Regions from separate parts of the Homo sapiens genome. Here region 2 is linked to region 1. Evidence: promoter capture Hi-C in 16 types of primary human blood cells and fetal thymus (Javierre and others, 2016). All regions are on one chromosome and are shown on one strand. The core of a region is centred on a gene start or on the middle of the fragment in contact, and the rest is flanking DNA. Distances in the headings are between cores, read along the strand shown. Region 1 holds the start of PIM1 (Pim-1 proto-oncogene, serine/threonine kinase). Region 2 overlaps CPNE5 (copine 5).

Evidence for each region. Contacts are between HindIII fragments. The CHiCAGO score rates a contact against its expected background, and 5 or more counts as called.
Region 2: a fragment that was not itself captured here is called in contact with the fragment with the promoter of PIM1 in region 1 in 2 of 17 cell types (naive B cells and naive CD4 T cells); the score reaches 7.0 in naive B cells.

The regions. Positions count from the first base shown.
Region 1 is chr6:37,167,880-37,173,100 of GRCh38, forward strand. It overlaps PIM1 (Pim-1 proto-oncogene, serine/threonine kinase), which reads left to right and starts at 2,273. Exons shown (of 6, transcript NM_002648.4): 1 at 2,273-2,778; 2 at 2,894-3,000; 3 at 3,102-3,152; 4 at 3,246-3,612; 5 at 5,117-5,221. The coding sequence starts at 2,697. RefSeq lists enhancers at 1,518-2,116, 4,038-4,631 and silencers at 1,742-2,521, 2,782-3,101, 4,291-4,390. The HindIII fragment of the contact is 5,698 bases long and covers 567-5,221 here.
Region 2 is chr6:36,769,114-36,774,334 of GRCh38, forward strand. All of the region lies in intron 10 of CPNE5 (copine 5), which reads right to left. Among named protein-coding and RNA genes, the nearest start is that of CPNE5, 68 kb to the right of the region's middle. RefSeq lists enhancers at 1-86, 2,805-3,304. The HindIII fragment of the contact is 8,826 bases long and covers 1-5,221 here.

The DNA.
Region 1 (5,221 bases), core at 1,023-3,522:
GCATGGTGGCGGGCGCTTGTAATCCCAGCTACTTGGGAGGCTGAGGCAGGAGAACCAATTGTTTGAACCCGGGAGATGGAGGTTGCAGTGAGCCGAGATAGTGCCATTGCACTCTAGCCTGGGTAACAGGGCGAGATTCCGTCTCAAAAAAAAAAAAAAAAAGGGCATTCAAGGAATAGGAAGACAAAGTATAATGGAAAAGTAAATGAACAAAAAGGATTTAAAAAAACAAATCCCAACTGTCAGATTAGTGGACAGTGAACCAATGCTCTGAGTTTGTTCATCAATCTGTGGTAGAACTACAATTGTTTCCTAAAGAGTGGAAAGGCTTTGAATAAAAGTGGAGAGGTAGAGAGGGCTCTCCCAGGACAGGTTGATTGCTTCCGCAAAGGCAAAGGGTCTGTAAAGTGCTAGGCGAGTGGGAACAAGTGGGAATAGTTCTGTTTGACTACATTTGAGGGTTTGAGAAAGGAAAGGGAGGGTAGAAGGGATGGAAGTGGGAATCACATATGTTTAATGATGTCTTGTTCGGTGCCAAGGACAGTTTTAGACCCTGATAAGCGGAAAGCTTTGAATACTCAGGAGGTGAATTTGGGTCATTTCATCTCCTCTCTTAGCTGCTGTATGACCCTGTGCCATCCTATTTATGTTTCATTTTCCTATCTGCAAAAAGGGAGTAATTCTTGTTCCCTTGGGTTTTCTCCTAGTCATAAAAAATGAATGAGTTCGGCCACAGTACACAAACAAAAGGAAAATATGTAATATTTTGTAGGATAAATTCATAAAAGTTGTGGAGGATCTGGGCACTTTTATAAAGCAAGCACTGTAGAAAACTTTCAAAGGAAACATTTAAATTCACTAATGACAGCTATAGGGATCCTGATTTTTCCTTTAAATGGCAGGCACTTCAAAAAATTAAAATAGAATGTAGTTAGCTTTCAATTACTTAGGCCACTGACAATTCAATTTATGGATTATATAGTATTTTAATTTACTCATTTCACACGTCGTTATCAACTCTACATGAAGTTTAAAAGGACAAAGGATGCAAGTGGAATTGGTCAGTGTTCCGGGTTATTTCCAAGGGAGGCAGAGGGTGGGGGGTTTCCTTTGAGACAAGACTTGGGGTTGGCCAATAATTGCTGGTATTGCCTGCCTGGTAATAACAGGCTGATGAAAAGGTGACTACAACGTGAAAACTGGTTAAATCAAGCGCACCCTCCCACCCTCGTTTTAGATGAGGAATTTTCCGCCCTCACAGAAGGGGCTGAGGCAGCATCTGGCATCACAACACTAACATTTGCTTCGTGATTTCCTCTTTACCCGGCCCTTTGACACACATCCCTTCCCAGAAATCAGGATTCGCTGGTGCTTTTGCATTTCTAAAATGGGAATCCCGTGGCTGAGCTTTTAGCCGGCCGGAACGACTGAGGGCTGCATCCCTTTCCCGCAGGAGCGGGGCTCCCGCCTCCAGTTCTGTTCCAGGCCTGACTCCTCCACTCCCTCCGTGACTCATGTCCTGCGGATCCTTCGCCCCCGACGCGCCCCCCAACACACAAACCCCCAGAATCCGCCCCCAGCCTACAGCGCGACGTCAGCCCGCCCCAGCCGACTTGGAGGTCTCGGGTCTGAGTCACACAGAAAGACCACCCTCGTCGGCATCCCCACACACAGTCCGACACCCGGCGCGCCGGCCTCCCCGCCTGACACACTAACGCCCGTCGTCTCCGCGCAACTTGTTATGCTCCGGCTCGAGCCCTTGACCCAAAACCCTCAGCGAAACGGAGAGCCGCAGAGCCGGCCTCGGGCGGCCTTTGATGGCTTTGTTATTGTTTGGGTTTGAATCGATACGCCCCTCCCCATCCTTCCTCCCTCGCGGCCCTACACCCAGCTCCCGCCTCCCCTCACGCCCCGCGCCCCTCCCCCTCCATTTTGGCGCCTTTTCCTTCCCGCCACGTCGTGGCGGCGTAGAGACCATTCTGACCGCGAGAGCTGGGCGGGGCGGGGGCGGGGCGCGCCGAGTTATGCAGATCAATCGGCCTCTGGTTGGCTGGAGTAGCGCTGGCAGGGGCGGGGCCGGGGCGCGGCCACAGAGCGCGCGGGGCGGGGGCCGAGGGGAGTCGCCCAGTCCCGCCGCTTCCCCACCCCCTCTCCTCCCTCGGCCGGCCCGGCAGCCCTGCTCCCCGCCTTGGCCTCCCGGAGAGGCCCCGCCCCGTCCCCGCCCGCCGCGCCCTCCCCGCGCGCCCTCCCCGCCGGCGCGCTCCTCCCCTTTACTCCTGGCTGCGGGGCGAGCCGGGCGTCTGCTGCAGCGGCCGCGGTGGCTGAGGAGGCCCGAGAGGAGTCGGTGGCAGCGGCGGCGGCGGGACCGGCAGCAGCAGCAGCAGCAGCAGCAGCAGCAACCACTAGCCTCCTGCCCCGCGGCGCTGCCGCACGAGCCCCACGAGCCGCTCACCCCGCCGTTCTCAGCGCTGCCCGACCCCGCTGGCGCGCCCTCCCGCCGCCAGTCCCGGCAGCGCCCTCAGTTGTCCTCCGACTCGCCCTCGGCCTTCCGCGCCAGCCGCAGCCACAGCCGCAACGCCACCCGCAGCCACAGCCACAGCCACAGCCCCAGGCATAGCCTTCGGCACAGCCCCGGCTCCGGCTCCTGCGGCAGCTCCTCTGGGCACCGTCCCTGCGCCGACATCCTGGAGGTTGGGATGCTCTTGTCCAAAATCAACTCGCTTGCCCACCTGCGCGCCGCGCCCTGCAACGACCTGCACGCCACCAAGCTGGCGCCCGGTGAGAGCACCCCCCGCCTCCGGCCCGGGGATGCGGGGCGGCGGCGGGATCTCCTGGGTGGGGAGCTGGCGGCTCGCGGGCCGGCACTGAGTCCCCGTGCTTCCCCCTTTCCTAGGCAAGGAGAAGGAGCCCCTGGAGTCGCAGTACCAGGTGGGCCCGCTACTGGGCAGCGGCGGCTTCGGCTCGGTCTACTCAGGCATCCGCGTCTCCGACAACTTGCCGGTGAGTGGGCGCCCCGCGGTGGGGAGGGCGCGCCGGGCGGGGGGCGCACGGGCGTGCTTTAGCCCGGACGAGGGAACCTGACGGAGACCCTGGGCTTCCAGGTGGCCATCAAACACGTGGAGAAGGACCGGATTTCCGACTGGGGAGAGCTGGTGAGTGCCCTGCAGGAGCGACCCCCAGGATGAGTGGGTGGGGTGAGGGGCGCCCCCGACTCCCGCCCTAACGCGGCCCCCTCGCCCCTGCAGCCTAATGGCACTCGAGTGCCCATGGAAGTGGTCCTGCTGAAGAAGGTGAGCTCGGGTTTCTCCGGCGTCATTAGGCTCCTGGACTGGTTCGAGAGGCCCGACAGTTTCGTCCTGATCCTGGAGAGGCCCGAGCCGGTGCAAGATCTCTTCGACTTCATCACGGAAAGGGGAGCCCTGCAAGAGGAGCTGGCCCGCAGCTTCTTCTGGCAGGTGCTGGAGGCCGTGCGGCACTGCCACAACTGCGGGGTGCTCCACCGCGACATCAAGGACGAAAACATCCTTATCGACCTCAATCGCGGCGAGCTCAAGCTCATCGACTTCGGGTCGGGGGCGCTGCTCAAGGACACCGTCTACACGGACTTCGATGGTGAGCCAGGCCCGGGAGGGAGCTGCCCAGGTGACTCGGCCCGGCCCGGCCCAGTCCGGAGGCCTCGGCCAGTCTCCCGCGCCAGCCTTTTGTAAAGGTCATTGGGCCGCCTGGCTCGATGCTAGCCGGGGTGGGACGCAGGAGAGCCTCCCAGCGTAGTAAAGCCGGGGATTTTCAGCCAGCTGAACCTGTAATGTTTCTGGCATGATTTTATTCTTCAAGTGGAATTCAGTTAGTTCCAGGCTTTCCCGATGAATAAGAGGTTGTGGGCAACCGGCGGTAGCCCAGATTTTTCTAAAGTCTGACCCAGTTTCCCCGCCAGTAAAAGGATGGGGGCGGGGGAAGAGGTGGAAATTGATGCCGGTTTTGTAATTTTTGTTTTATTTTATAAGGGAGTTAGTTTTCTGTATGGTAGTTTTAGAGCTGCAGTTCTTAACTCCTTTCTGATCTAGGGAAGGTTAAGGAATAGGAACTATATTATTACTGGTGGCTTTTTTTTTTCTTTAGTGTTAAGGGGAGAGAGAGTCAGGAATGAATGTTGTGAAATAAGATCTGTCGCTGGTTTGAAAATTAGTTGGGTGTCTCCGCAGAGAGGATGAAAACCTATCCTAGGGAGGGGCTTGGAGCGGGTTCTTTCAGAAAAGAAGGAATGGAGAGCCTGAGATCAAAGCTGCGGAGGGTGGGTCATCATCTGAGCGGCTTAACCTAACAAACGACAGCCTTTCAAAACTTGTGACTCGGGCTTGTGGTTTATGTTTATTTGCCCTTGGAGGACGCTGGGTTGGGCTGCATTTTTTGTATTTAACAGTTAATGGCTGGCCGGGTCCTCCCATGTTTTTTCTTTCAAGTCTTTGCTGCCCCCTGGTGAGCACCAGCGGCATGGCCCCTCCTTTTTCTTTTACTACCCAAAGTTTGTAAACAGGAATCACGTGGTCTGAAACCAACCCTGCAGCTCTGTCTACCTTTCCAGTCTAGGGAGGAAAGGGTGTGGGTGTCTGCTCCTGCTTGCATCGGGTGGGGAGGAAGGCCTCCCAAAGGGCACCCTGACTTAGGATGTTGTGCAAGCATCCTTGCTTGGATCCTGTCGGCCATGAGAATCTCACCCGGGCTCCTGGGCAGTGGTGAATGCAATTTAAGGATAGTCTATGAGATACCTTTCTTGGTTGTGCAGACATGCATCCCTTCATCCTTCGCAGGCGGTCCTGCCTCACAGGGCCTCAAGTTTTGGGTCTGCGGCCAGCTGTGTTTGTTTCTTGGAGCAGTTCATAAAGAATTTCAGTTTATGGTTTGGGCTAGCAGAGAGGTGGGTAATGCTTTGGGTTGGAGAGATGCCGTAAGGTGCGCCTCCACTCTCCTTAGCCCAGAGGGAAAAATGGAGTTCACCTAGCTCCTGAGAGAAGGGATTTTTTTTTTTTTTAAAAGAAAGAGTTATATATACCACCCAGCTTCTTTGTGCTTGTTTTTGCTAAAAGTGTGTTTTCTCTTCTATTCCCTTGGCTCACAGGGACCCGAGTGTATAGCCCTCCAGAGTGGATCCGCTACCATCGCTACCATGGCAGGTCGGCGGCAGTCTGGTCCCTGGGGATCCTGCTGTATGATATGGTGTGTG
Region 2 (5,221 bases), core at 1,948-4,447, 400 kb before region 1:
GTTTGTTTCCTGCTGTATCTTCAGCTTCTAGAACAGTGCCTAGCCTATATCAGGTGCTGTATACATATTTGTTGGCTGACTGAGAGCTCCTAGCAACGTGATGAAATGGGCTGTGCAGGTAATAATACCGTCATTCTACAAAATCACAAAAGGAGGCCAAGAGTATGTGGCTCTCCGTGAGTCACACAGCTGGTCAGTGGTGATGCCAGGAGTCAGTGACCTGGGCCTCTGGACACCTAGAGCCACAATGACAGAGCCAGATATGTGTGAGCCTGGGCAAGCCAGCAGGGATGAGAGACACCAGCCAAAACGCCAGGCTGCCCCCACGGCATACCAACTAGCTCTATCTATAGTTTCCTCCCAGCTGAGCTGCAAGGTCTGCCTCCTAATGAGCCTCTGCCTGGCAGGGGGAAGGTTTCCCTGCGGCTTACAAGTCCCGAGGGCTGACAGGCCCTGAGGGGTTTTGCCTTAAATGGACTTGAGTCAGTCCAACACTCAACTCTTCAGGAAGAGGAGCATCAGGGCCTCATCTGGGGCAGGCAGTGAGACTGGCAGCAATCTCGGCCCCCAGGTTGCACTGCGCAACACCGGGCAGTGCCGCGGTGACCGTGCCTCCCGTCTGAGCCTCAGCTTCTGCATGTGAATACCGAGAACGGTACGATGCCCTTCATCGAGGCCATCTGTGGAGATGCCTGATAGGGCGCCTGGCCCTCCTGGGAGCTCATCTGTGGCCGGATGCAAAAGAGAAGGAACTCACACATCAAGGGTGCCAGGCAGAAGTGGGAAGCTGCGGTGACTCCTTTCCTCTCTCCAGGTGAGGACTCCACACTCTTAACACCCTCTTAAAATCTACTCATTCAGCATCAAGGTGTGAGCAGCCTGACCCAGACAACTGTGGTTTAACAGGGACAAATCCTCAAGTCACAGAACATTAAGAGAGTAGGGCAAATTCCAGGAAGGCAGGGGAAGTGCTTCCTGTCATCACCCCACTTTACCCCACCGGAAGGCTGGCTTGGCTCTGATCCTGATGCCACTTCCTGTGACTTCAGCTCTGCTCAGCTAGGTCACTCAGGTTTGGCCTTGTGTGGACTGGACACATAGCAAAGGCAGGGAGACTCCAGGCCAGAGGGCCAGGCCAGAGGCAATTTCAACAGGAGGGAAATGCAGCTTCTCCTTACTCTGGCAAGTTATATAATATCTTCTCTTCTATTTCCCTTGTAAAATAGGCACAGCACTAGACCCGGCTCCTAGGGTTATTGTAAAATTTAAATTCACAAAATAAGATAACGCATTTAAACCAATTAGAATACAACTTGGTCCATGTCCTAAGTCCTCAGTAACTGTAATCGTATTACCTGGCTTCTACACCCATCATTCCGAGAACACTGCCCTTTCTCATCAGGCCCGGGTTCTCATCCTCCTGTACCTCTTCTCACAATAGGAGGGAATGATCCCTGACCGTGCCGCCCTCCTCTTAGTTCCCTCCTATCCCTCTGACCATCTCCTCTTCTTTCTTGCTCCTGGCCTCTGGCATCACCCACAGGGCCTCTCAGGGCACCAGATCTCTGGCCACCCCCCTCCTGGAGACCCTAGACTGCTGTCCCCTCCTGCTTTAGCGGTGCCTGGTCCACAGCTGCCTCCTCTCAATGTGGCTGAAACCAAGTTTACCTCTCTTTCCCCAACCTCTCAACAGCAGCAGCTCGTTTTCAAACAACAAACATAATCTTTATAACTTAAGAAGGATAATTTTTTTAAAAATGGGTTTCAGATAGGCTGTGAAAAGAACTGCGGAACACAAATCTGTGAGTAAGAATCTGGCTGCCGATCACACTGCCCATTTCTGTCGGTGGTGCCACCTTTTCCTGCCCTCAAACGCTGAACCATTATCCCTTCCCCTCTTTCACTCCCTTACCCAGGCAGGTACCAAGGCCTTTTGGGTCTTCCTCTTCCTTCTTGCTGTTCCCCTCTCCTCTCCCCTCTGAATTATTTGGTATTAAAGCCAGAAGGACGTTAATGCTTTGAGGACTAAAACCAATCCAAGCAGCTTCCCTACCTCTAATCAGAAAGCAGAACTGCCCCTAACCCCTGAGCAAGGTGCTCATTAGTAAGCCTCCCCCAGATGCACCCTGGTCACAGCCCTGTCATGCCATGTCTTGGCTATCTGGCAACAGTGCATAGGGATTAACAACACAGAATCTAGAGCCAGGCTGCCGGGGTCCACATCCTGGTTCTACCACCGGCTGGCAGCAAGACACTGGGCAAGTGACTTAATCTCTCAGGGCCTCTCTGTCTCCTTACCTGTAAAATGTGGCTAGCATCAGCACCTCTTTGCAATGAGCTAATTGTTGGGGGGATTAAATTAGTTCCTATACATAAAGCACTTAGAGCAGGGCCTGGCCCATGGTTAAGTGCTATAGGAGTCTTTGCTATTATCATGACCTGTCTGTCTCCCCACTGGCCTGGGAGCAACCTAAGAGGGAGGCTTGGGTCAATAGGCCCCCACAGCACCCAACACAGTGCCTGGGGCCTGACTGGCTTGGAAGACACGGCTGCTGAATTAAATCAACTACGTTCTGTGAGGCTCCAAGAGGTGTCTTGGAAGGAGGGGACAGTGGCCCCATTTTCCTGCACAGGGCCCTCCCCTGCCTACCCTGGAGGGCCTTCTGATACTGGCACCTCCTGAGTGTCTGTTGGGTGCGTGGGTTACACTGGGGCTGGGGGGCGGGGGGATAGGCCTGATCGTTCTTGGAGCCAGAGTGACATCCCTGGCCTCCTTGATTAACACTACTGTCAGTCACATTATGGAAGATCTGCTTCTGGACATGGGGGAGGGCCATCCTGCAGCGAGATGAGGCTAGGCTCTGCCTCAGAGTGGGAGGTGGGAGCCTGCCCCTCCCACCAAATAAATACCCACCTCCTCCAACGGCCCAGTGGTGAAGCCAGGCCTCCGAGCCCTGCTGCCCCTTTCACTGTCCCTGACAAAGCTGGCTCCTGCAACCCTGGGAGCTCCTCTCTAGAGATACAGGGTTGTGAGGGGTCAGTTGGGCCAGGGATCCCCAATTCCTTCTGCCCTGTGAGACTTTAACTGCCATACTCTCCCATCCCCCTACCTTGAATTTCCTCTCACTTTGTTTCCATCTCCCTTTATTCCCGTGCCCCTGTCCCCAGGATCCTCCACCCCTGACTTTCCAGCCTTTCCTGGGCCTTCTTTAGAACTCACTGCTCCAACCAGCCCGTCCTCTCACTGCTCCAACCAGCCTGTCCTCTCATCCCCTCACCCACTCTAGAAGCCCCAGGAGCCAGCTAGATGTGTAACAGAGGCTTGTTTGACTGCAGCGCTAAGACCGTCTTTGTTCCCAGTCTTATTTTGTGCACTTATTTATCTGTCTAAAATACATGTGCACATCTGTGCTGCCTGTGGTCAGACCACAGTCTCCCTAAAGATGGGAAGGCGACCCTGTTCGTTTAAATCCGCACAGCTAGAGGCGCCACGCTGGGACACAGGAGGCACTCAGTGACCACCTGTGGAACAGACTGTGGCTCTTCTGTCCCAGCCAAGAGGCAGGAAAAAGAACAAGCTCATGTCTCAAACTGGCAGCCTGGGGGTTTCTTCGGAGTGTAACAGGGGTGCCTGGAGGCCATTCATCTGCTGATCATCCCCTCAACATGCCTTTTCAGGCTCCCAGCTGCCCCAAGGTGTCTGGTTTTGTTTGTTTGTTTTCTTTTTTGTCTTTAAGGTTTTCTTTTTTTTTTCTTGAGACAGCATCCCAAGCTGGAGTGCAGTGGTGCAATCATAGCTCATTGCAGCCTTGAACTCCTGGGCTCACGTGATCCTTTTGCCTCAGCCACCTGAGTAGCTGGGTCCACAGATGTGCGCCACTATACCCAGATAATTTTTTTTAATGTTTTAATTTTTTTAAATTTAGTTTTAAATTTTTAAATTTTTTTTTGTAAAGATGGGGGTCTCACTATGTTACGCGGGCTGGTCTTGAACTCCTGGATTCAAGCCCATCTCAGCCTCCCAAAGTGTTGGGATTACAGGCGTGAGCCACCACGCCTGACCCCAGGTGTCTGTTTCGACACCCCAGTGCTCCTGTCGGAGTGGCCCAGAGGCCCAGCTTTCTTAGCTGTCCAGAGAGCCCTGCCCATGAGCCCCCTACCACCTCACCCACCTGAGCTGCAGCAATCACCAGGAGACAGGGATGGGTTCTCCTGACTCAACAGAAACCAACACAGTCTCACAGCTCCCATTTTGGGTGGTGGCCCCACTCGCTCTCTCGGCGCTTGCTACAATGTATAATTACATGTTTCCTTGTGTGATTATTGGATTAATGTCTGCCTCCCCTACTGGCATGTAAACACCACTAGGTTGGGTGAAGGGTGAAGACTGCACCCTGCTGATTTCCCAGCATCTAGCACAGTGCCTGGTACATGACAGGGGTTCCCTAAACATTTGTGGATGAGATGCTGAATTTGGTATTTTAGGCACAACAGAGCCTCGTTGTGTAGGTTGTGTCGTGTGAGCGTCAATGCAGTCCTGTAGAGTAGGCAGACATTTTAATACCCATTTTACAGATAAGGAAACTCAGGCTCAGACAGGTCAAGGATTGCCCAGGTTGACAGTGCTTTTTGGTCACAGAGTCAGAATTAGCAACCAGGTATCTGGTATCTACACTCAACAATCTACACTCAAATGATGATGAAGATGATAGCCAACATGTAATAAGAGTAGGCATATGTTAAAACAAAAAATCTAGCCTGGGCAACATGGTGAAACCCCATGTCCACCAAAAACACAAAAAATTAGCCGGGCGTGGTGGTGCATGGTTGTGGTACCAGCTACTCGGGAGGCTGAGGTGGGAGGATTGCTTGAGCCCAGGAGGTGGAAGCTGCAGTAAGCTGAAATCGGTGAGATGAGAAAATGTCCCTTCACTCCAGCCTGGGTGAAAGAGTGAAATCCCATCTCAATTAAAAAAAAAAAAAAAATCTGCCAGGCATGGTGGTTCACACCTGTAATCCCAGCACTTTGGGAGGCAGAGATGGGTGCATTGCTTGAGCCCAGGAGTTTGATACCAGCTTGGACAACACAGCGAAACCAGTCTCTACAAAAATAAAAAATTAGCTGGGCGTGGTGGTAGGTGCCTGTAGTCCCAACTATATTCAGGAGGTAGAGGTGGAAGGATCGCTTGAGCCTGGGAGGTCCAGGCTGCAGTGAGCTGTG